Regions from separate parts of the Homo sapiens genome. Here all the other regions are linked to region 3. Evidence: promoter capture Hi-C in 16 types of primary human blood cells and fetal thymus (Javierre and others, 2016). All regions are on one chromosome and are shown on one strand. Each heading gives the region's core, a stretch centred on a gene start or on the middle of the fragment in contact. The rest is flanking DNA. Distances are from core to core; before and after follow the strand shown. Region 1 overlaps LINC02819 (long intergenic non-protein coding RNA 2819). Region 2 overlaps KCNJ9 (potassium inwardly rectifying channel subfamily J member 9). Region 3 holds the start of DUSP23 (dual specificity phosphatase 23). Region 4 has its middle 32 kb from the start of LINC02819. Region 5 overlaps KCNJ10 (potassium inwardly rectifying channel subfamily J member 10). Region 6 has its middle 5.7 kb from the start of LINC02819. Region 7 has its middle 11 kb from the start of OR10J1.

Region 1 (2,700 bases), core at 145-2,644, 300 kb before region 3:
CAGTGGCGCGATGTCGGCTCACTGCAAGCTCCGCCTCCCGGGTTCACGCCATTTTCCTGCCTCTGCCTCGCGAATAGCTGGGACTACAGGCGCCTGCCACCGCGCCTGGCTAATTTTTTTGCATTTTTAGTAGAGACAGGGTTTCACTGTGTTAGCCAGGATGGTCTCGATCTCCTGACCTTGTGATCCGCCCGCCTCGGCCTCCCAAAGTGCTGGGATTACAGGCGTCAGCCACTGCGCCCGGCCAGAGGCATTTTTATTAATGGGCTGGGCTTGTGAGACTTCTGTAAAAAAGCGACATGTGAGTAGAGACCTGAGTAAACCACAGAAATATGAGATATACAGATATCTGAAGAAAGTGAGTATGTTTTTGCCTTATATCACATTCAACACAGTGGCTTTTCCAAATCACCAACTATAGCCCTACTCATTCCAGTCTTAGTCAGTGACTTGGTATCCTACCTTACCAGGAATATTAAGGCATTTTGACATGTGTTCCTTCAAATCTCTCCTCTTAACCAAATGTCTCTCTGTATCTTTATTCTACCTCTGTTGCCCTGTGACCCTCTTTGGGGAAGAAGAGTCTGCTCTCATGGCCAACACTAATCTCTCCATTTGTAACTGAAGACAAGCAATGTAGTGGTGTTCTCAACTGCCAAGGAAAAATTGTGCATTTCTGCCTCCGGGGAACACTGCCATTTTCACAGAGTATGAATCAGAAACTACTGATGCTTCATAAAATAAGACAGATGACTCTCAGTGCCATATTGCAAAAGGACATGTTCAGTAGACTGTTCATTAATTTATTATTTAGTGAGCACCTGCTTATGTGCCTCATATTAGCAGTGATAGTAGAAAGCCAGGACCCCAAATCTTTGGCCAGCTGTCTCCTGCTATAAATTCTTAATAGGGCATGTTCGGCACAGATTACACTCCAGGAAATTGCATACATTTGTCCCCAAATAAAGTCCAGTGTCTGATGACCAGGCCTGGTTCACATGTGCCGTCTGAGATTTTCTTCAGCTGGTGCAGATGTAAAGTCTTAGGATAACCTCTTTGACTTTTCCCACCAGGTCTACTACAGGAATTTGGCTAGCTGGGGTTTTTCGTTTGTTTGCTCATTTGTTTGTTTGTTTTAATGAAACAGTAAAAGGAGGGACAGAAAGAAGATCCTGAGAATAAGAACTCAAATCTCCCTAAGTACAGTCCAGGCTTCCCTCACTCCAGGAGCTCACTCCAGGCTTCTCTCTGTGCCCTTTCCAGGACTGTCGGCCTGTCCTGATGCAGACATGCTTCAAAGCCTGGAAAAGTAGGCACTATTGCTGTACCAGCCCCATTGGAATAAGGGCAGAAGCAACAATAATTCCAACTGACAACCTTCTTGAAAAACACATGTAACCTCTTTGACCAACCTGTTAAAAGATATACCTGTTTCTTTTACTCCTCCCAACATCAACACTGTATTATAGTGCCCCAAGAAACCTAAGAATCTTTTTGCTTTTATTCTAAAACTGATAATTACTTCTGTTGTCAATGATGTATCCTGCTTTTATGACCTGTCAGAAAATAAATAATCATATAATAAATAACTGACAAATCATTACACATAAAGTTCAGCATTTTCCATGTCTAAGTGCATCAGTATTTAAGTTCAGTTCTTACTCTTGCCATTGTTGTCTGGATAAACTTGGAAGGATTACCTCCACACACAAACATCACCACTTACACCTTGCACCTCTGGATTCTTCCTAACTCTCACAAAAACTTTGTTCCTATTCCTGAAATTGTGATTTCCCATCATTATGAAGACAATCAAAACTTTGGGAGTCATGGTGATGAGCTCTTAGAAAACCTTTATCCACTTCACAACTGGATGAATTATCTTCTTTCTTTCATCAAGATCAGGTCTGCCACTTGTTCGGAACCCAAATCTAGCACTATAAAACTTCAAAACAATTCTTCCAAGTGTGTAATAATATTCAATGTGTTCTTAAACACAATGTCTGCTATGACCCTCAAAAAAATTTTTTTAATTGTAAAGTGAGCATAGCAGAAAGTGTTAGCTCCATTTTATAGGAGAGAAATGTGGTACACATTTTTTGTGAACCTGTCAAACTCCAAATGTTTTCTTCACTGTAACTGCCTTTACTCTGAATCCATATTGTTTAATTCTCAAAATTTATCTCTTTGTAATGTGACCCTATCTTTGATCAGAGTTGGTAGAATCAGAGAAGTTTATCAAATCCCAGTTAGATCACTCTGATTCCCTCATTTAGGAATTTGGAACTAGGAAAGAAGTAGAAATTGGGAAGTAAAAATGTAGAGAAGAAAATGAAACAGGAGAGTCAGGAAGTGGTGGGGAAAGATGAAAAGAAACTGTCCATGTAGATTAAACTATAACATTAAATTGGTAGTTTTTGTGAGGAAAATAGCCATCTGAACAGAAAAAAAAGGAAGTAAATAGATTACAGACAGAAATGGAGACAAAAAAGTGAGAGAGAGTGCTAAAACTTCCCAACTTCATCATCTAATGTCTTCTTAAGGTGTGGCTACATTCTTGCACTTAAGTTTTATGGGATGCTGCTACAATTTACAATGAATTTTTCTTTTTCTTAAGCTAGGTCTAATTGATTTTTACATTTGCAACCAACATGAAAAATAAGATTCAAAGTGATTAATAGTACCAAAGATCACATTGTC
Region 2 (3,041 bases), core at 489-2,988, 310 kb after region 3:
TCATCACCGACCAGTGCCCCGAGGGCATCGTGCTGCTGCTGCTGCAGGCCATCCTGGGCTCCATGGTGAACGCCTTCATGGTGGGCTGCATGTTCGTCAAGATCTCGCAGCCCAACAAGCGCGCAGCCACGCTCGTCTTCTCCTCGCACGCCGTGGTGTCGCTGCGCGACGGGCGCCTCTGCCTCATGTTCCGCGTGGGCGACTTGCGCTCCTCACACATAGTGGAGGCCTCCATCCGCGCCAAGCTCATCCGCTCGCGCCAGACGCTGGAGGGCGAGTTCATCCCGCTGCACCAGACCGACCTCAGCGTGGGCTTCGACACGGGAGACGACCGCCTCTTCCTCGTCTCGCCGCTGGTTATCAGCCACGAGATCGACGCCGCCAGCCCCTTCTGGGAGGCGTCGCGCCGTGCCCTCGAGAGGGACGACTTCGAGATCGTCGTTATCCTCGAGGGCATGGTGGAAGCCACGGGTGCGAGCAGGCCTGGGGAGGGGAGCGGGGTTGGCAGAGGGTGGGCGGGACCGAGGAAGGCAGGGGCGAGACTAGGGGCCAGGGGAGCTGGGGAGGATGGATGGAGGGGCTGGTGGAGGATGAGACAGTGAGGTGAGACAGGGGTCGGAGGCGGGAGTGGAACCGAGCAACGCCGCAGAAGGCCAAGAGAAAGCTTGGAGGAATTCTCCGAAATGGCACTGGCGTGGGGCCCTGGGCCCAGAGGAATGTGTCACTTGGAATAGGGACAGTAATAATAGCTAGTGCTCGCCCAGTATTCACCCTGTGTCATGCGCAGTTCCAAAGCACTTTCTACCTCTGAGTCGATTTAATCCTAACAAGAACCCTCTGAAGGTAACTTCTTGTTATTGTGCTCACTTTTTAGAGATGAGATTGCTCCAATGAGAAATTAAGGAAGTTGTCCACTTTCCTAAGCCAATAAGTGGCCATGCCTGGATTGGACACAGGCAATGTGGCTTCAATGTTTAGTGGTCCCGAGTTGGAAGGAGGGGTTAGGTTCAGGGGTTTTCTCACTGCAGTCAGGTTCAGGCCCCTGGAATTTGACGGTGAAGGTTTTCCATTGCCTGAGTTATTTCTAGGCCGGATCTTGAGGGGAGTTTAATACCTAGTCTCACTTGTACCTCGGTTTCCCAATTCATCCATTTCCACTGACAAGGGATATAGATGATGTTACCTTTTCTAGCTCTTTTCCAAAAGGAACTGGCAACTCATCTGTGATGTCAATAAGTCCAACCCAGACCTACACAGTGAAGGCTTTGGGAGCAGGTGAAAAAAGACCAGTGTTACAGGAGTCGCAAAGGAGGTCACTTAGGACTTGAGATCTAGAGGATAGATGAGGATGAGGAAACTGCGGGTGGAGGACCAAAGGCCCACTAGGGGGCGCCGCAGTCCCTCCTCTGACGCCAGAGCTGCTGATGCTCCCTGCCGGCTTCGCTGACAAGCTGGTGCCTTCAGATCCTTTCCCTGGCCCCTTTAGGCTGAGACTCCGCTTCACACCCCAACCCCAGCTCCGCATCACTGTTCCCATTCCTGCTTCACCCCGACTCTTTCCTCTTCCCCCACTCACCCCGTTCCCTTTCCTCTCTCTCCAGCTGTCACTCCTTTTCTGCCAGTATCTCAGGCAGGCCCCTCACCCTCCAGGGAAGTTGCTGCCCGGCCCTCTTTTCTCTTTGTACCCCCAGCCCTGCCCTCTCCTCCTCGAAGCCCTTCTCTCCCCAGTGTCCCTTATGCCTCTTTCTCTTCTCTCCCACTGGATACTTTCTATTCCAACTTCACCGAGGAATACCAATGTCTCAGCGCCAGGCTTTCCGAGTTGACAGCCACTCTCCGGTTAGCTAATGTTCACTCTTCTGTTTCCCCTTGTTCCGAGATGGATATGGGTTGGGGGCAAGACCCTGTGGCAGAAAGGAGAATGACCTGCCCTGAGGGGTGCACCAGCCCAACAGGAAGATAGGACACAAGCCCCGGGCAGGGAGGACCAGGACAGAGGAGATGAGGATAGGAATCTGTCTGTTTTTCTAGAGAGATAAAGCTGGAAAGGATGGTAATATTTTGGGTGAGACAGTCAGGATTCAAAACGCTTTTGAAAAGCAAGAATAATGAGCCAAAACCCAGCAAGATGACATTTAAAATGAATAAATATAAAATTCTACATTTAGGCTTTAAAAAAATCACTTATGTAAGCACAGCATGGAAGAGCACTGGTGAAAAAAGAACTGGGAGTTTTAGTTGGCTACAGTCTTGATGTCGTAGCAATGTGATGCAGCCTCCAAAATGATTATGTAATGTTATCCTGGGCCCTATTAGTGAAAGCATCATGGCCAGAAGAGAGAGATGGTGCGCGCTCTCTTATGCACGGAGCAGGCCACAGTTGGAAAATTTACTATACTCAAAATGCTTAAAGGGCCCTCCTTGGCCATTCTGGCTTGTAATCAAAAAAGTAGAGTTCTGGAAAACCAGGTCAAATGAGGAATCGTGGAGGAAGCCAGGGATGTTAAGTCAAGAGAGAAAACATGAGGGAATCTGAGACTCCTGTTTTCAGATACTCAGAGGACTGTGAAGTGGGAGGGGAATGAAGCCAAGAGTTGGAAATCCCAGGGTACAGGTTTTAGCTCTGTATAAAGAACAACCCAACTATTAGAGCTATCATACAAAGGAGTGGGCCCTTTATGAAGTGGTGAGCTATCAATCCTGGGAGGTAATCAAGTATAAGCTAGATGCCCATTGTTAGAAATGCTCCTTTGGGGAGCCCTGTATGGAGTGAGAAGTTGGACTAGAGGATCCCTAAGGTTAGTTTCAAGGTTAAGCTTTTTTTGGTTGGCATCACCAAATGACAGGAGGGGAAAAAAGAGCTGGACATTAAGAGGAGTTGGGGCAAATGGAGAAGACACGAGGGAGCTGGGTAAGAACAGGAGCTAGGGAGGGGGGGAAATGGACTGGACCAAAGGGAGGTGGGAGCCCTTAGGAAGGAATAGAAGGGAGGGTGCTGGGAGTAGGGTTGTGGAATGAGAAGAGGAGAGGGAAGCCTGGAG
Region 3 (2,897 bases), core at 244-2,743:
AGGAGAAAAAGGGGAGATTTGGCACCTCCTGGAACCTGGGGAAAGTAATTGTCTGGGTAAATGGTAAGTGTATTTCCCACAGGGTCAGAGCAGGCTTTGATCTTTAGGAGAAGACAAATTGCTTTCCATCTTGCTGAAGCCAAAGGCTTAAATGGTCAGACGTGTGTCATAGGTGGGTGCAAAGGGAAGGAAATATAATACATCCTCATGGCCAAGTGCCCTGGGCTTGGATCACTGTGTCCTTGGCCAAGTTAACCAACTTCTTTAAGCTTCCAATGATTCATGTACAAAAAAAGATACAAAAATACCTTTCACATGTGGTTCTTCCAGAAAGCGCTTGGCACAGGGCCTGGTACATAAACAAATTCAATAAGGGTTAACTATTTTCATAATTACAGTTAGTCTGCATCGCTAGAAGCACATTATTCAAATGAGGATATGGACTGGTCAGATGACAGTGGAAACGGTGTTCAGATCTAGGGGCCCCCACCTAGTAAGAACAACACTAATCAACTCTAGCCTGCCCAGGGGACAGTGACCCAGAGAACTAGGAAACCTTGAAAAATGAAGAAATATGAAATACTAATAAAAATTAAGAAAACCCACAAGCGTTTAACCCAGATAATATTTGGGGACATGAGGGGGTTATGTGAAGAGAAAACAATGTTCCATTTAACTTTAGGAAATGGCGATATTATTAAAGATTTTGGAGGCATTAGTCATCATCCTTTGGTCAAGTTTATTAACCTCTCCAGTGCCTCTGTTTTTTCATCCATAAAATGGGATTCACTAGATCACCTATCTTATAAGATTACTGTGGCAATTAAATGAGTCAGTATGTGCTAAGTGCTTAGAAGACTATCTAGCACATAATAAATGCTCAATAAGTCCTGAGGAGCAACTGGATTGACAGGAGAAGTTGGTGCTGGTTATTATTATTACTATAATTATTACCCTGGGTAAGTTTTTAATAGTTCCAGCAATGAAAAAATGAGAATAGCCTCCTTGCAGCAGTAATTCCCTCTTACTGGAACAGTTCAAAAAGTCGCTGATAACGACCAGTCAATCATTAGAGAGGAGACTCCTCGTCCTGGGAGAAAGCCGATTTGTCATCTCTTAAACCCCAGGGCATCCAGCGTGAAGGAGGTAGAACTAGGCCGGCCCGCGAGGAGGCAGGGGCAGGCGCCAGTGACGCAATGACTGCAACATGCCGCCAGGGTGCAGCAGAGCCCGACCCCGGGTTGTTCCATCCGCAGCAAACAATTCCTAACTCGCTCCAGGTCTTCCTTCTTAGCTGAGTGGGTTGAACCCCGTGGAAGTAACCCCCCGCCCATTATGATGATCCAGCCAATCACCGCGTGATCTGCTCGGACGGGGCGGGATCGCGGCGCTTCCCTCGGTCGCTCAGAGACTGGGTTCCGCGTTCCAGCCCCGCCCCAGGTTCTGGGCCAATCCCCGCGGCTGGGCAGAGCGACCCGAGGGCGGCGCCCTGCAGACCACGTGGCCCGGGAGGCGCCGAGGCCAGGTAGGTGGTGAGTTACTTGGCTCGGAGCGGGCGAGGGGACGCGTGGGCGGAGCGGGGCTGGCCAGCCTCGGCCCCCATGACCCGCTGTCCTGTGCCCTTTCCCAGCGATGGGCGTGCAGCCCCCCAACTTCTCCTGGGTGCTTCCGGGCCGGCTGGCGGGACTGGCGCTGCCGCGGCTCCCCGCCCACTACCAGTTCCTGTTGGACCTGGGCGTGCGGCACCTGGTGTCCCTGACGGAGCGCGGGCCCCCTCACAGCGACAGCTGCCCCGGCCTCACCCTGCACCGCCTGCGCATCCCCGACTTCTGCCCGCCGGCCCCCGACCAGATCGACCGCTTCGTGCAGATCGTGGACGAGGCCAACGCACGGGGAGAGGTCAGCGGGCGGGGTCAGCGCAGGGAGGGAGGGGCCTGGAAGGTCAGCGGGGGACACGGGCGGAGCTGGGGAGACCGGGCCTGGGATAACTTAACTGGGCTCGGGGAGGCAGACAGTAGGGCCGGGAGACTGGGAAGCCAGTGCGGGGGAGGGAAGCGCTAAACGGAAGGAACTAAAGAGAGGGCGAAGCAGTGCGAACTGGGCTTGAGGAGAGGCAGTGAAAACCAGCTAATACTGTGAGTTGTGAAGGAGAAGGGTGTGGACAGACACCTGGGAGAGGTGGGGGTTGAAGTCAGGTGGAGGCTGTTTACCATTTTCTAGAGTAAAGCTGTCCAAATATAATGGAACCTAAGTGGCTCCATGTAATGTTAATTTTTCTAGCAACGGCATTCTTAAAAAGCAGGGAAGCAGATAAAATTAACTTTGGTGATCTTAATGAGATATTTTCATTCTTTTTTCTACTACCTCTTCATACCCTGTTGCGTTTTTCACACTACATCTCAGTTTGGACTAGCCACATTTCGAGTACAGTAGCCACAGTAGCCGTGGCTACTGTCTTCTGTATTGAACACCACAGGTGGAGGGCTGTGTAGAGGTGGACAGCTCTTGAACCAGCCAGTGCAGAGGCCTCCTAGCCACCTAGTGCAGGGACAGCCCTCCCTGACTTTGCTGCAGAGCCCTGGACCTGGCACAGAAGAAGGAGCTGTGGGGAGAACCAAGTGAGGGGCAGGAAACAGTTGTGGGTGGGGGAGTTGAGTGGCACCCATCGAGCCCCCTCTTCGTAGGCTGTGGGAGTGCACTGTGCTCTGGGCTTTGGCCGCACTGGCACCATGCTGGCCTGTTACCTGGTGAAGGAGCGGGGCTTGGCTGCAGGAGATGCCATTGCTGAAATCCGACGACTACGACCCGGCTCCATCGAGACCTATGAGCAGGAGAAAGCAGTCTTCCAGTTCTACCAGCGAACGAAATAAGGGGCCTTAGTACCCTTCTACCAGGCC
Region 4 (3,046 bases), core at 180-2,679, 280 kb before region 3:
AATGATCTTTTTAATGTGTTGTTGAATTCAATCTGCTAGTATTTTGTGGAGTATTTTTGTATGTATGTTCATCAGAGAAATTTGCCTGTAGTTTTCCTTTTTTGTTGCTGTTGTGTCTTTGTCTGGTTTTGGTACCAAGGGATGCTGGTCTTATACAATAAATTTTGTATTTTCTTTAATATTTTAGAATAGTTTGAAAAGTATTTGTATTGGTTCTTCTTTAACTGTTTGGTAGAATTTAGCACTGAAATCATCAGCTCCTGGACTTTTCTTTGGTGGGAAACCTTTTATTTCTGAATCAATCTTCTTACTCATTATTGATCTGTTCAGAATTTTTATTTCTTCATGATTCAATTTTAGTAGGTTGTATGTGTCTAGGAATTTATCAATTTCTGTTAATGGTTTTCCAATTTATAGGCATATAGTTGTTTATAATAATCTCTAACAATCCTTTGTATTTCTTTGATATCAGTTGTGATGTCTACTTTTTCATCTTTAACTTTATTTATTTTAATCTTCTCTCTTTCTTACTTGGTCTAGCTAAAGGTATGTCTGTTTTGTTTATCATTTAAAAACTCTTTGTTTTATTGATCTTTTGTAATTTTATAGTGTAATTTATTATTTCTTTTCTTTTAATATTTTTGGGTTTAGTTTGTTCTTGTTTTTCTAATTCCTCAGGTGCAACATTATGTGGTTTATTTGATATCTTTCAAATTTTTGGTGTATGCATTTATTGCTATAAGTTTTCCTCAAATAACTGCCTTTGCTGTATCTAATAGCCTTTGGTATGTTGTATTTTCATTTTCATTGTTTGAAGAAAATTTTAATTTCCTTTTTAATATCTTAACTGACCCATTTGTTATTCAGGACTCTATTGTTTAATTTTTGTATACGTTGCTTGTTTTCAAGATTCCTCCTGTTATTAATTTCAGATTTTATCCCACTGTGGTCAGAAAAGATGCTTGATATGATTAAGATATTTTTACATTTTTTTGAGACTTGTTTTATGGCCTAACATGTGATCTGTCCTGGAGGACATTCCATGTGCTGATGAAGACTGGATTTTATAGCTGTTGGGTGGAATATTCTGTAAAAGTTTCTTAGATTCATTTTATATAGAGTCCATTTGAAATCCAATGTTTCTTTACTGATTTTCTTTCTAAATGATCTGTCCATTGCTAAGCATGGGGTGCTTAAGTCCCCTACTATTATTAAATGTTACAGTTTATCTCTCTAATTAGATTTATAACATATGCATTATATATTTGACTATCCAAGTGTCAGATGCATATAAATTTATAGTTGTTATGTCCCCTAGTTGAATTGACACCTTTATAACCATCTTTGCATCTTTTTACTTTTTTAACTTAATGTCTAGATCTAAGTATAACTACTTTTGCTCTCTTTTGGCTTTCATTTGCATGAAATATCTCTTATCCCGTTTCCATAGAATATCCTTTTTCATCCCTTTACTTTCAGTGTATGTGTGTCCTACAGGTAAAATGACTCATTTGCAGGCAGCATCTAAATGGGTCTTTTTTTCTTTTTTATCAATTCACTCACTCTATATCATTTAATTGGATAACTTAATCAGTTTACATTCAAGGTTATTACTGATAGGTAAAAACTTACTACTGTCATTCTGCTAGTTATTTTCTGGTTATTTTATAGATCTTTTGTTCTTCTCCCTCTCTTGTTGTTTACCTTTGTGGTTTAGTGATTTCTTTAGTGATAAGTTTTGTTTCCTTTCTCTTTTTCATATGTGTATCTGCTGTAATTTTTTAAATTACTCTGGGTTTACATAAAACATTACAGCTATAAAATACCATTATAAGTTGGTAACAACTTAGCTTTGGTCACATACAAATATTCTAGACTTTTACCCTCTTCCCCACAATTTTTCATTTTGTTGCCTTAATTAAAATCTTTCTATGTTGTGTATTTCTTAACAGTGTATTTAGTTTTGGTAATTGTAGATGATTTTTAACCTTCATACTAGACATTTGAAAGATTTACATACCACTATCACAGTAATGCAGTATTCTGAATTTGATTATGAGCTTTTCTCTCAGTGAGTTTTATATTCTGTGATTTAATGGTAATAAAGTCCTTTCACTTCCAGTTAAAGCATTCCCTTAATCATTTGTTGTAAGGTCAGTATAGCAGTAATATGGTTTGCCTGTGTCCCCACCCAAATATCATCTTAAATTCCCATGTGTCGTGGGAGGGACCCAGTGGGATGTAATTGAATCATGGGGACAGGTTTTTCAGCAGTATCACTTATTCATGATAGTGAATATGTCTCACAAGATCTGATGGTACTATAAGGGGGAGTTTCCCTGCACAAGCTCTCTCTCTTTGCCTGCTGCCATCCATGTAAGATGTGAGTTGCTCCTCCTTGCCTTCCACCATGATTGTGAGGCCTCTCCAGACATGTGGAACTGTAAGTCCATTGAACATCTTTCTTTTGGAAATTTCCCAGTCTCAGGTAATGTCTTTATCAGCAGCATGAGAACAGACTAATACAAGCAGTGATACATTTCCATAGCTTTTACTTGTCTGGAATTTTGTGTCTTCATTTTTGAAAGATAGCTTTGCTGAGTATAGTATTTTTAGATGATGATTTTTTTCTTTTAGCACTTTGAGTAGGTCATCCTATTCATGATCCTATTCTCTCCTGGCCTGCAAGGTTTCTTCTGAAAAATCTGCTTATAGTCTAATGGTGGTTCACTTACATATTGACTTGATGTGTTTATAATTCTTTTTGTCTTTGACTTTTGATAGTTTAATTATAATGTACCTTGGAGAGGATCTCTTTGAGTTGAATCTAATTAGGATCCTTTAAGCTACATGTATCTGCATATTCATATCTCTCCCAAAACATGAGACATTTTCAGCTATTATTTCGTTCGATAAGTTTTCTATGCCTTTCTCCATCTGTTCTTCCTATGAAAATCACATAATGCAAACATTTGTTCATTTAATGGTTGGTGTCCAAAAGGCCTCATCGGATTATTTTTGCTATTTTTCATTCTTTTTTCTTTTT
Region 5 (2,971 bases), core at 211-2,710, 260 kb after region 3:
GCGGGTGGATCGCCTGAGGTCAGGAGTTCAAGACCAGCCTGGCCAACAAGGCAAAACCCTGTCTCTACTAAAAATACAAAAATTAGCTGGGCATGGTGGCATGCGCCTGTAGTCCCAGCTACTCAGGAGGCTGAGGCAGGAGAATCGCTTGAACCCGGGAGACAGAGGTTGCAGTGAGCCGACATCGCGCCACTGCACTCCAGCCTGGGTGACACAGCGAGACTCCGTCTCAAAAAAAAAAAAAAGTAAATAAAATAAAATAAAATAAAATGACATCATTCTGCTCTCCAAGAACTCACAGCCTAGTGAGAAAGATGCCTATTTAGTAAGCAAATAATTGCAACACAGTCTGATATTTGTAATTCTTAGCGGAAGAGAGGCAGAAAAGAAAGAGTAGTAGCTTCACATTCCTTGAAGGTGAGGGTGAGACTAATGAGAGCCTTCACCACAAAACCAGTCCTCCGAAGAGCTCTAATTTTGAAATAGGATCCATCCCCACCCTTATGAATGGCTATGAAGCAAGACAAGCTATCCTGTTGAAATCCTTCCAGGCCAATCCCCCTTAAAACACACACACACACACACACACACACACACACACACACACACAACCTTAATTTCTTCATTCTCTGCTCTACCCCCAAGCCAATACCCACTGGTGATACTAAGATACTCATCTGGTTCAGAGAATAGCAGAAACTACCCATTCTTTTACCCTTCAAGATGCTCCCTAAGCACCCAGACCATTTCATTTTTTATCATCATCATCATCATCTGTTTGCATCATCTGGGGAAATTTGGTCTGAGTTAGAGTCTAGGGCAGTGTTAGGAAGAGTACAGATGGGACTTGAACAAAAGGAAATAAGCAGTGGTGGAGGAGAAACAACATGTTAAAACTTCCTGGAAGCACTGGGACATTTTCTGAAGGACTGGCAGAAATGCCAGATTGTGGGTGGCAAAATTGTTTTGACAGAATGAAGTAGAAGAGCTAGGGGTGTATATTAACTAGCAGCTATGTCTGCACAGGCTCAAATTCAGTATTGCTATTTGTTCTGATAGCAGAAAGTGGGGCAAGCCACTGAAATAGGAGACAATTCACTTAATACAAGGTGCCTGGCACCCTTGCCCAAGCAGTAACTTGTACTTTTCCAGCACAGAAAGAATTTTAATCACTTGAGCCCTTGGACCCTGGATCTGATAGCCAGATCTTCTGTGGAGCAGGGTGATCTCTGGGGAGTTTAGCCCTTCTTGGAGAGGCTCATTACATTCTCCATTCGAAAAAGTCTGAACCATTGCATTTTATGATTCTTCACACTGCCCACCCCACCCCCCATCTCTATTTTCCCCATGGCCTTGTCCCTGGAAAACTTCAAATCTTTTGGGCCTGACCATATGCCCAACCAGGTAGGCACTGAATTGGAGATCACCAATGGATGAGAACCCTGAGAATGTTCAGAGGCAACAAGGATGCCCAATTTACCAGCCCTGTGTCACAGGCCATTTGGAACTTCCGTTCATGCAAGACTGTTCAACCAGACCTGGATGTCATTCACTCCCCTATATCCTTGGCTGCTTTGGAACAAAAAGGAAGCTCTGCAACTCTGAAGTTTGAAGAATTTGTATTTCAAGCCTAAACAAAGCCCTATTTAGTACTCAGTAGTAGTAATAATAACATAACAACCATACTGCCTGTATCTATATACCATTTTAGAATTCACACATTAGAATACCTTCTCATTTGATCCTCAAACTCTTGAAAAAAAAGATGTAAACTCCTATAAGATTTTGAGGAATGAGAACAGAAGAAGTGCTGTAAAATTAGAGATGAATGAACATAGTTTTAATTTTCAAAAAGAAAAATGAAGTACCTTTCACAAACTACAAACAGGTAAGATATTGATCCTAGGCAAGATTCTAGAATGGAATATTAAGATTACGAGTACTTAGGTAGGATGGGGGAAAGGAAGTTATCAATAGGACCCAGTGTGGATTTACTAAGAACAAGTCACATCAAAATGGCCTAATTTTGGCTGAGTGTGGTGGCTCATACCTGTATCCCAGCACTTTGGGAGGCTGAGGCAGGAGGATCACTTGAGATCAGAAGTTCAAAACCATCCTGGGAAACAGCAAGACACCATATCAGCAAAAATTTTTAAAAATTAGCTGGATATGGTAGCACACACCTGTACTCCCAGCTACTTGGAGGCTGAGGCAGGAGGATCACTTGAGCTCAGGAGTTGGAGGCTGCAGAGAGCTATAATCATGCCACTGCACTGCAGCCTGGGCAACAGAATGAGACCCTGTCTCAAAAACAATAATAACCTAATTTTCTTTTATGATAAGGCTACTAAATTGACAAATCGAAGAAGTGCAACAGAGAACGTGTACCTAAACTTCAGGAGATTTTTGACAAGATCTCTCATTATGACCTGGGGATAAGATAAAGAAAAATGAAGAGAATGCTAATCTAATTCGGTGACTTTAAAAATCAGTGGTACTGGTGAGGGGACCATGATAGCCTGGAATTCATTTTCTATTGATACACCAGAGAGCTTCATCTTTGGCCTTGCCCTATTCAATTTTCTTAACATGAACTTCATTCAAAACTATAGAATGCTATGGCCATCAATTGTGTGCCTGACAGAAAGCTGGGACAGATAGCAAATGCAAGAGCTGGGGCAGAATTAGGATCCAAAAGGAGTCAAATAAGTAGGCCAAGTCTAACAAAAATGTTAAGTGCTGGATTATGTACTTGGGTCCAAAAATTACCTGAGCAAGTTCTGGATTGAGAAGATGTGATTTAGCAAAGCAGTACAATATAAAAAAATTAAACATATTAGCAGAAAATAATCCAATATGAGTTATTCATGTGTTTTGATTGCCAAAAAAGCAAACTAATCTTAAGCTCCTTCAGTTGAACTGAAGTCCCTAGAACAAAAAAGTAGTTGATTCTACTCTGCTCTGTTCATCC
Region 6 (2,700 bases), core at 28-2,527, 320 kb before region 3:
TCAAAATCTCAGCAAGGTATTTTGTAAATATTGACAAACTGCTTCTAAAGCTTTTATGGAAAGATAAAGCATCTAGAATAGCCAACACAATACTGGACAGAACAAAGTTAGAGAACTGAAAGCTACTGAAATTGAACTTGTATCCAAAATGTACAAAGAACTCTTACAACTCAACAATAACAAAACAAGTAACCCAATTTAAAAATCAGCCAAATAACTGAATAGCAACATCATCAAAAATCTATAGATAGCAAATAAGCACATGAATAAATGTTCATCATTTCTTATTAGGAAAATGAAAATTAAAATAACAATGAAATACCACCACGTAGTTATTAGAATGGCTAAAATTTAAAACACTGACAACTCCAATTGCTGGTGAAGATGTGGTACAGTAGGAACTCTCAATCATTAAGGGTTGGGATGCAACATGGTATAGCTACTTTGGAAGAGAGTTGGACAGTTTTACACAAAGATAAACATATTCTTGCCCTATGATCCAGCAACCACACTGCTAGGTGTTTATCTAAATGATGAAAAACTTTTGTCCACAAAGAAATCTGCATACAAAAGTTTATAGCAGCTTTCTTCATAGTCTGTAAAAATTGGAGTCAACCAAGAAGTCATTCAATAAGTGAGAAGGTAAATAATCTGTTGAACACCCACACAATGGAATCCTATTCAGTATTATAAGTAATAAGCTGTCAAACATTTTAAATTTTGATGACGTTTTAAATTTTAATGAAACCCAATTTATCATATTTTTCATGGATCATAATTTTAGTTTAAAGAATCCTGCCTATATTTATGTGAGTAGTCTACTTTGACTTAATTTTTATATAAGATATGAGACTTAGGTTGAAGTTTATTATTATTATTATTTTTGCCCGTGAATCTCTAAGTGCTCTAGCATCATTAATTGTTGAACAGGCTATCTTTCTCCATCAAATTACTTCGTAATCTCTCTAAAAAATAAGTAGGACATATTTGTGACTATTTTAGTTTCTCTATTCTGTCCTATTGATCTGTTTATCTATCTTTCTACCAATACTTAACAATCTTTATTATTATAAATATATAATAAGCCTTAAAATTTGGTAGACTTATTTCTTCACTTTACTCTTTCTTTCCTATATTATTTTAACTATTCTAGTTCCTTAGCTTTTCCACATAAATTTTAGAATAATCTTTTCTATATCTACAAAAAAATTCTGAGATATTGATAGAAATTACATTATTTCTATATATCAATTTAGGAAGAAGTAATGTATTCACTATATGAGTCTTCCAATCCATAAACACATATATCTCTTCACTTACTTTGATCTTTGATTTTTTTATCAGCATTTATAGCTTTGAATATACAAATCCTATACATATTTTGTTATACTTACTGCTATTTCACTTTTTTTCCAGTTGTAAATGGCTTTTTGCTACTAATTTCAGTGCCTGCGTGTTCATTACTAGTATATAGAAATGCAATAGATTTTTGTAGGTATATCTTATATTTTATGATCTGACTGAACTCACTTATTAGTTCTAAGAGATTTTTGTAGACTCCTTGGAATTTCTACATAGACAATTATGTCTTCTGCAAAGAAAGACATTTTATTTCTTTTTTTTTCCAATCAGGATGCTTTTTATTTCCTCTTTTTGCCTTATTGTGCTGGCTAGTTATAGCATTGTGTTAATAAAAGGAAGTGGACATATTTACCTTATTTTCAAACCTATAGATAAAGCAGTCAGTCTTTCACCATTAAGTACAAAGTTAGCTGTAGGATTATCATCATATTATGTCTCTCTCTTTCTCTGGTCATTTTCTTTTCTCAGAAGCCTACCTTACCTCATATTAATATACCCAATCCTGGTTTCTTTTAATTAATACTTGCATGATTATTCTTTCCCATTTGTTTATTTTCTACCTGCCTATATTTAAAGTTAATTTCTACTAGACAGCATATATTTAGGTCATGTTATGACATCCACTCTGCAATCTGTTTTGATTTGGTATATCTAGACCATTTATGTTTTATGTAATTATTAATATGCTAGGACTTAAATCTGCTATTTTATTTCTTTTCTATTTTATCTGTTTTTTTGTGTTTCTCTTTTTCATGCCTTACTATGGGTAACATGGACATATTTTCAAATTCCATTTTGATTTTTCTGTTTCATTTTAGATGTAGATTTTGGTATAGATTTTTGGTGGTTGTGGTAAGTATTATATATACAAAATTCATCATAGTCTAGGTGTCATCAGTTTACCAGTTTGAGTAAAGAGTAGAAATCTTACCTCCATTTATATCCCTTTATCCTCCTTCTTTTATAACATAATTGTCTTAAATATTTCCTCTACACAAATTTAAAACCACATCAACCCTTATAGCACTGACAGATATAATTTTCATTTTAACCAAACATAACTTTTAAAACTCCAGAGAAGGAAAATCTATTTTATTTACCTCTATTTTCACATTCAATTTTCTTTCTTCCTCCCTGATATTTCAAGCTTCTTTCTGGTACTGTTTCCTTTTTAAGAGAACATTCCTGTCTGGGAGGGAGAGGTATGTCTCGTTGCCACTCCTATGTGACTTCCACTGAGCCTATAAGTGGGGTGGTCTTATTACTACCGGCTGGCAATATAAGTCCTGACATGCAACTCAGCCTCTTCTGACCCCATCCCAGCAGGGGAGGAGCTGG
Region 7 (3,079 bases), core at 98-2,597, 350 kb before region 3:
AATTATGATGAATTTAAATGCAAAAATAAAGAAAACTAAAAAAATAGATATTTTATTTTTTAAGTTTGGATAGTTGAAGAGATTAATTAGAAATGAAACCCCTAACAGCCATGATCAACAAAAATCAAAGAGACACAAGAAACATTATCAAGTAGGATACAAGGACAGATACGGAGGAACAAAATACTTATAAAAGCACATTTTGAACAACTTTATACTAATTTATTTTTAAAAGGTATATAAAATGGGCAGATTTGGAGAAAAGGATATATTACCATAATTAGACAAGAAATAGAAAATGTACTAGAATAAAAACCCCATAAAACAGGAAACGCTAGTAGTGAAAAACCTACTCTTTCCAAAAAACAAAGACACAAAAAACAACATCATGCTCAGAGGATAGAAAGGTGTGAGATTTAGCCAGCATTTAAAGAGGCTGCTAATTGCAAACCTTTCATACCAAAAATAGCCAAGTTGGAAAAGATAATTATCGGCCAATAATGGATAGATGAAAAAATAGTAAACTGAATTCAGCAGTATATACAAAGATCAAGTAGGGGTTTCCGTTAAAACGTATGAATGAGCCAATATTTTAAAAATTTCTTAATGTAATTCACCCCTAACAACTTAGAGAATAAAAAGCATATGATTATGTCAATGAATGCAGAAAAGAAACTAGCTGAAAATTTAACAGACCATTTATGATAAACTTGCAAACAAACCAGGAATAGAAGGGAACTTCCTTATATCTGCCAGAGATCTATAGCAAGCATCATGTTTAATGGTTAATAAAACATGAAAAACATTTAAAGTCCGAAAAAAAGACAAAAATGTATCTATAAGTGTTAGTATTGAATATTATATTTCATAACCAAATGCAATGTGAAGAGAAATAAATGAGAGAGATAAAAATCAGAACAGAAAAGAGAAAACTGTCAAAATGTGCAGATGATGTAGTCGTCAATACATTTTTCTCCTTTGTCAGAAAAAAACCTACATTCATCCTAGATTTTCTTAGCCTTTTCTCCCTAAACCCATCTTTCTTCAGATAAACACACAATAAAACTTATATTTTAAAAAGTCAGTCACTTTTCTGTTCACAATTTCAGTATCGGGTTTCCTTTTCTTTCTCATAGGTTTCAATTCCATTCTATTTCTAATTTCAAAGAGCTACATATTTAAATAGCTACCAGGAGAACTATAAAGAAGAGACATTGACAAAAAAGGCCCAAGATTAATGATTATTTCAAGGTCTCGATAAGACTTGCTGCCCAACTTTAAGCCTTCCTTTAGCTGCTCCCTAAAGGATTTCAAACAGTCCTAACGAAGTTATGCACTGGCCATTCTCAAGCAGTGATAAATATGCCGTAAATTCATCTCTTGCCTGTGGGACTTTGGATCTTAATAGCTTATGAGCTCAAGTACTTCCAGTTTCTGTTGGGTAAATGTTTGAGGGCCTTAAGAGAGATTATGTGGAATTGAACTGAATGCCTGGCAACTCTTCCATGCTTGTCAGTCTCTCCCAGCTTACTTGGCTTGTCAAAGACACCACAATAAACTGTCCTGCTTTCAAATATTTATTTCTCAGTATGCTGGTACTTAGAGAGTCCTTAAGAGAAAGATACAAACTGGGCACCAGAACTAGGAATTACTGAAGAGCCCAAGTCTTAGGGTATCCTGGGGGATTTGATATCCAATTCTCTTCCAACCTTCAGAAAGGCCCATCTTGGGCTCACCTTCTAAAAGGAAAGCAAGGTTGGGTCAGTTGATGGACTAAGTTCTGGAGAGAGAAAGAGGGGGCTACAGAAATTACTTCAGTAAAGCTCTTCCTTCTGATCTCCTCAAGGAGAAGGTGCTCAGCTTTTTGTGGGTAACACACAGGGGTAGCCAGGTACTGCAAAGCAGGCAAAACTGGCTTACACTACAGGTGTAGTGTTCCCAGTTTCTGCTGTATTCCATGTTCCTAGCATGTGAGAGACATTCTTTGAGTATTTGCTGAAGAAATCAGTAAATGAATGAGTCATGGTTCCCACAACATTCAAACTGAAGAGACCTCAGAGGTAGGTCCTTCAGCAGTTAGGACAGAGAGACCCTGGAGTGTGAGTGATTTGTCTCATGACGCTGCATCCTTAAACATGATTGGTTCTGAGGCCCTCCCCATAATGCGATCATGAGGCATGAGTCCTCTTCAACCACGGAGCAGTCCAGGACCTTATGCTGATGCAAAGACTTCATTCCTGTGGGAAAAACCAAGATTGTCGAAGTACTAGTTGTATGATTGTTGATGAGTCACTTTTATAATGAGTTCCCCAGACATCAGAGTGTTTGGATTGTGCTATTGCTGCCTTGCAGACAGTCACTGTGGTTTTGGGGAGAGGGACCCCAGAGTCCTAGGGCACAGGAGAATGGTCCTCTTGGGCAGCCAGCAATTCAGACTTAAAGGGACAGGGCAATGGGGAGGTGCAGGAGAGCCTGGTGCTGCTTTTTGTATGTTTGTTACTCCCAGATCTGACTGATCAGGGAGATAAATTAACTGAAAGGTCCTGGTAGGTTCTGTTTTATTTCTAGTCCTCCAGTTTGGAAGATTCTCTGTGTGCTGTGTCTGCCACAGTACAATGGGAGTCCTGGAAATTCTAGTTTCAAGCCTCACTCTCCTGAATCCTGAATAAGCCTCCATCCTGCCCAGTGATATGTAAGTCACATTTCAGGACTTGATGCAGGGATTCTTGTTCTGTAACTAAATGTGACCTCGTGGCCCTCATCTCATAACCTCATGACCCTCATCTCTCTCTTTTATCTCCTGAGATAATTATCAAGTGGAAAAAATGAATATACAGCTGTGTCACAAAACTTAGGAATCAAAAGCATAAATAGTGAAAAAAATCACCGAGAAAGGATAATCTGGGTACCAGCCTTAAGGAAGGCAAAGCTTCCAAAGCCTAAATGCCTTATCCAGCATATTCTCATTGAAATGCTGTCCAGTCTCCGCAGCCCTCAACAAACCATCTCCATCCCAGATTGTGACACTCAGCATTTCTTCATAGCAGTCTCTGAGATAGATATTAGCACAGTCTTCATC

What was found. Contacts are between HindIII fragments. The CHiCAGO score rates a contact against its expected background, and 5 or more counts as called.
Region 1: a contact is called between a fragment that was not itself captured here and the fragment with the promoter of DUSP23 in region 3, in 1 of 17 cell types (endothelial precursors). The highest score is 5.4, in endothelial precursors.
Region 2: a contact is called between a fragment that was not itself captured here and the fragment with the promoter of DUSP23 in region 3, in 2 of 17 cell types (naive B cells and non-activated CD4 T cells). The highest score is 5.4, in naive B cells.
Region 4: a contact is called between a fragment that was not itself captured here and the fragment with the promoter of DUSP23 in region 3, in 2 of 17 cell types (M2 macrophages and endothelial precursors). The highest score is 5.7, in M2 macrophages.
Region 5: a fragment that was not itself captured here is called in contact with the fragment with the promoter of DUSP23 in region 3 in 1 of 17 cell types (naive CD4 T cells); the score reaches 5.5 in naive CD4 T cells.
Region 6: a contact is called between a fragment that was not itself captured here and the fragment with the promoter of DUSP23 in region 3, in 1 of 17 cell types (M2 macrophages). The highest score is 6.0, in M2 macrophages.
Region 7: a fragment that was not itself captured here is called in contact with the fragment with the promoter of DUSP23 in region 3 in 3 of 17 cell types (endothelial precursors, M2 macrophages and M0 macrophages); the score reaches 6.9 in endothelial precursors.

Annotation. Positions count from the first base shown.
Region 1 is chr1:159,478,277-159,480,976 of GRCh38, forward strand. The region is part of intron 2 of LINC02819 (long intergenic non-protein coding RNA 2819); the gene reads left to right. Among named protein-coding and RNA genes, the nearest start is that of LINC02819, 14 kb to the left of the region's middle. The HindIII fragment of the contact is 6,494 bases long and covers 1-2,700 here.
Region 2 is chr1:160,084,410-160,087,450 of GRCh38, forward strand. KCNJ9 (potassium inwardly rectifying channel subfamily J member 9) reads left to right here. Exons shown (of 3, transcript NM_004983.3): 2 at 1-471. Among named protein-coding and RNA genes, the nearest start is that of KCNJ9, 4.4 kb to the left of the region's middle. RefSeq lists an enhancer at 189-719. The HindIII fragment of the contact is 2,152 bases long and covers 663-2,814 here.
Region 3 is chr1:159,779,469-159,782,365 of GRCh38, forward strand. DUSP23 (dual specificity phosphatase 23) reads left to right here and starts at 1,494. Exons shown (of 2, transcript NM_001319658.2): 1 at 1,494-1,899; 2 at 2,685-2,897. The coding sequence starts at 1,633. The coding sequence ends at 2,870. RefSeq lists a silencer at 1,429-1,818 and an enhancer at 1,810-2,386. The HindIII fragment of the contact is 4,062 bases long and covers 268-2,897 here.
Region 4 is chr1:159,496,642-159,499,687 of GRCh38, forward strand. No RefSeq gene overlaps it. Among named protein-coding and RNA genes, the nearest start is that of LINC02819, 32 kb to the left of the region's middle. The HindIII fragment of the contact is 3,393 bases long and covers 1-3,046 here.
Region 5 is chr1:160,042,706-160,045,676 of GRCh38, forward strand. All of the region lies in intron 1 of KCNJ10 (potassium inwardly rectifying channel subfamily J member 10), which reads right to left. Among named protein-coding and RNA genes, the nearest start is that of PIGM, 12 kb to the left of the region's middle. RefSeq lists an enhancer at 2,954-2,971. The HindIII fragment of the contact is 3,672 bases long and covers 1-2,971 here.
Region 6 is chr1:159,459,024-159,461,723 of GRCh38, forward strand. No RefSeq gene overlaps it. Among named protein-coding and RNA genes, the nearest start is that of LINC02819, 5.7 kb to the right of the region's middle. The HindIII fragment of the contact is 2,459 bases long and covers 49-2,507 here.
Region 7 is chr1:159,427,303-159,430,381 of GRCh38, forward strand. It overlaps a transcript of OR10J1 not described here. Among named protein-coding and RNA genes, the nearest start is that of OR10J1, 11 kb to the right of the region's middle. RefSeq lists a silencer at 2,137-2,431. The HindIII fragment of the contact is 3,159 bases long and covers 1-2,927 here.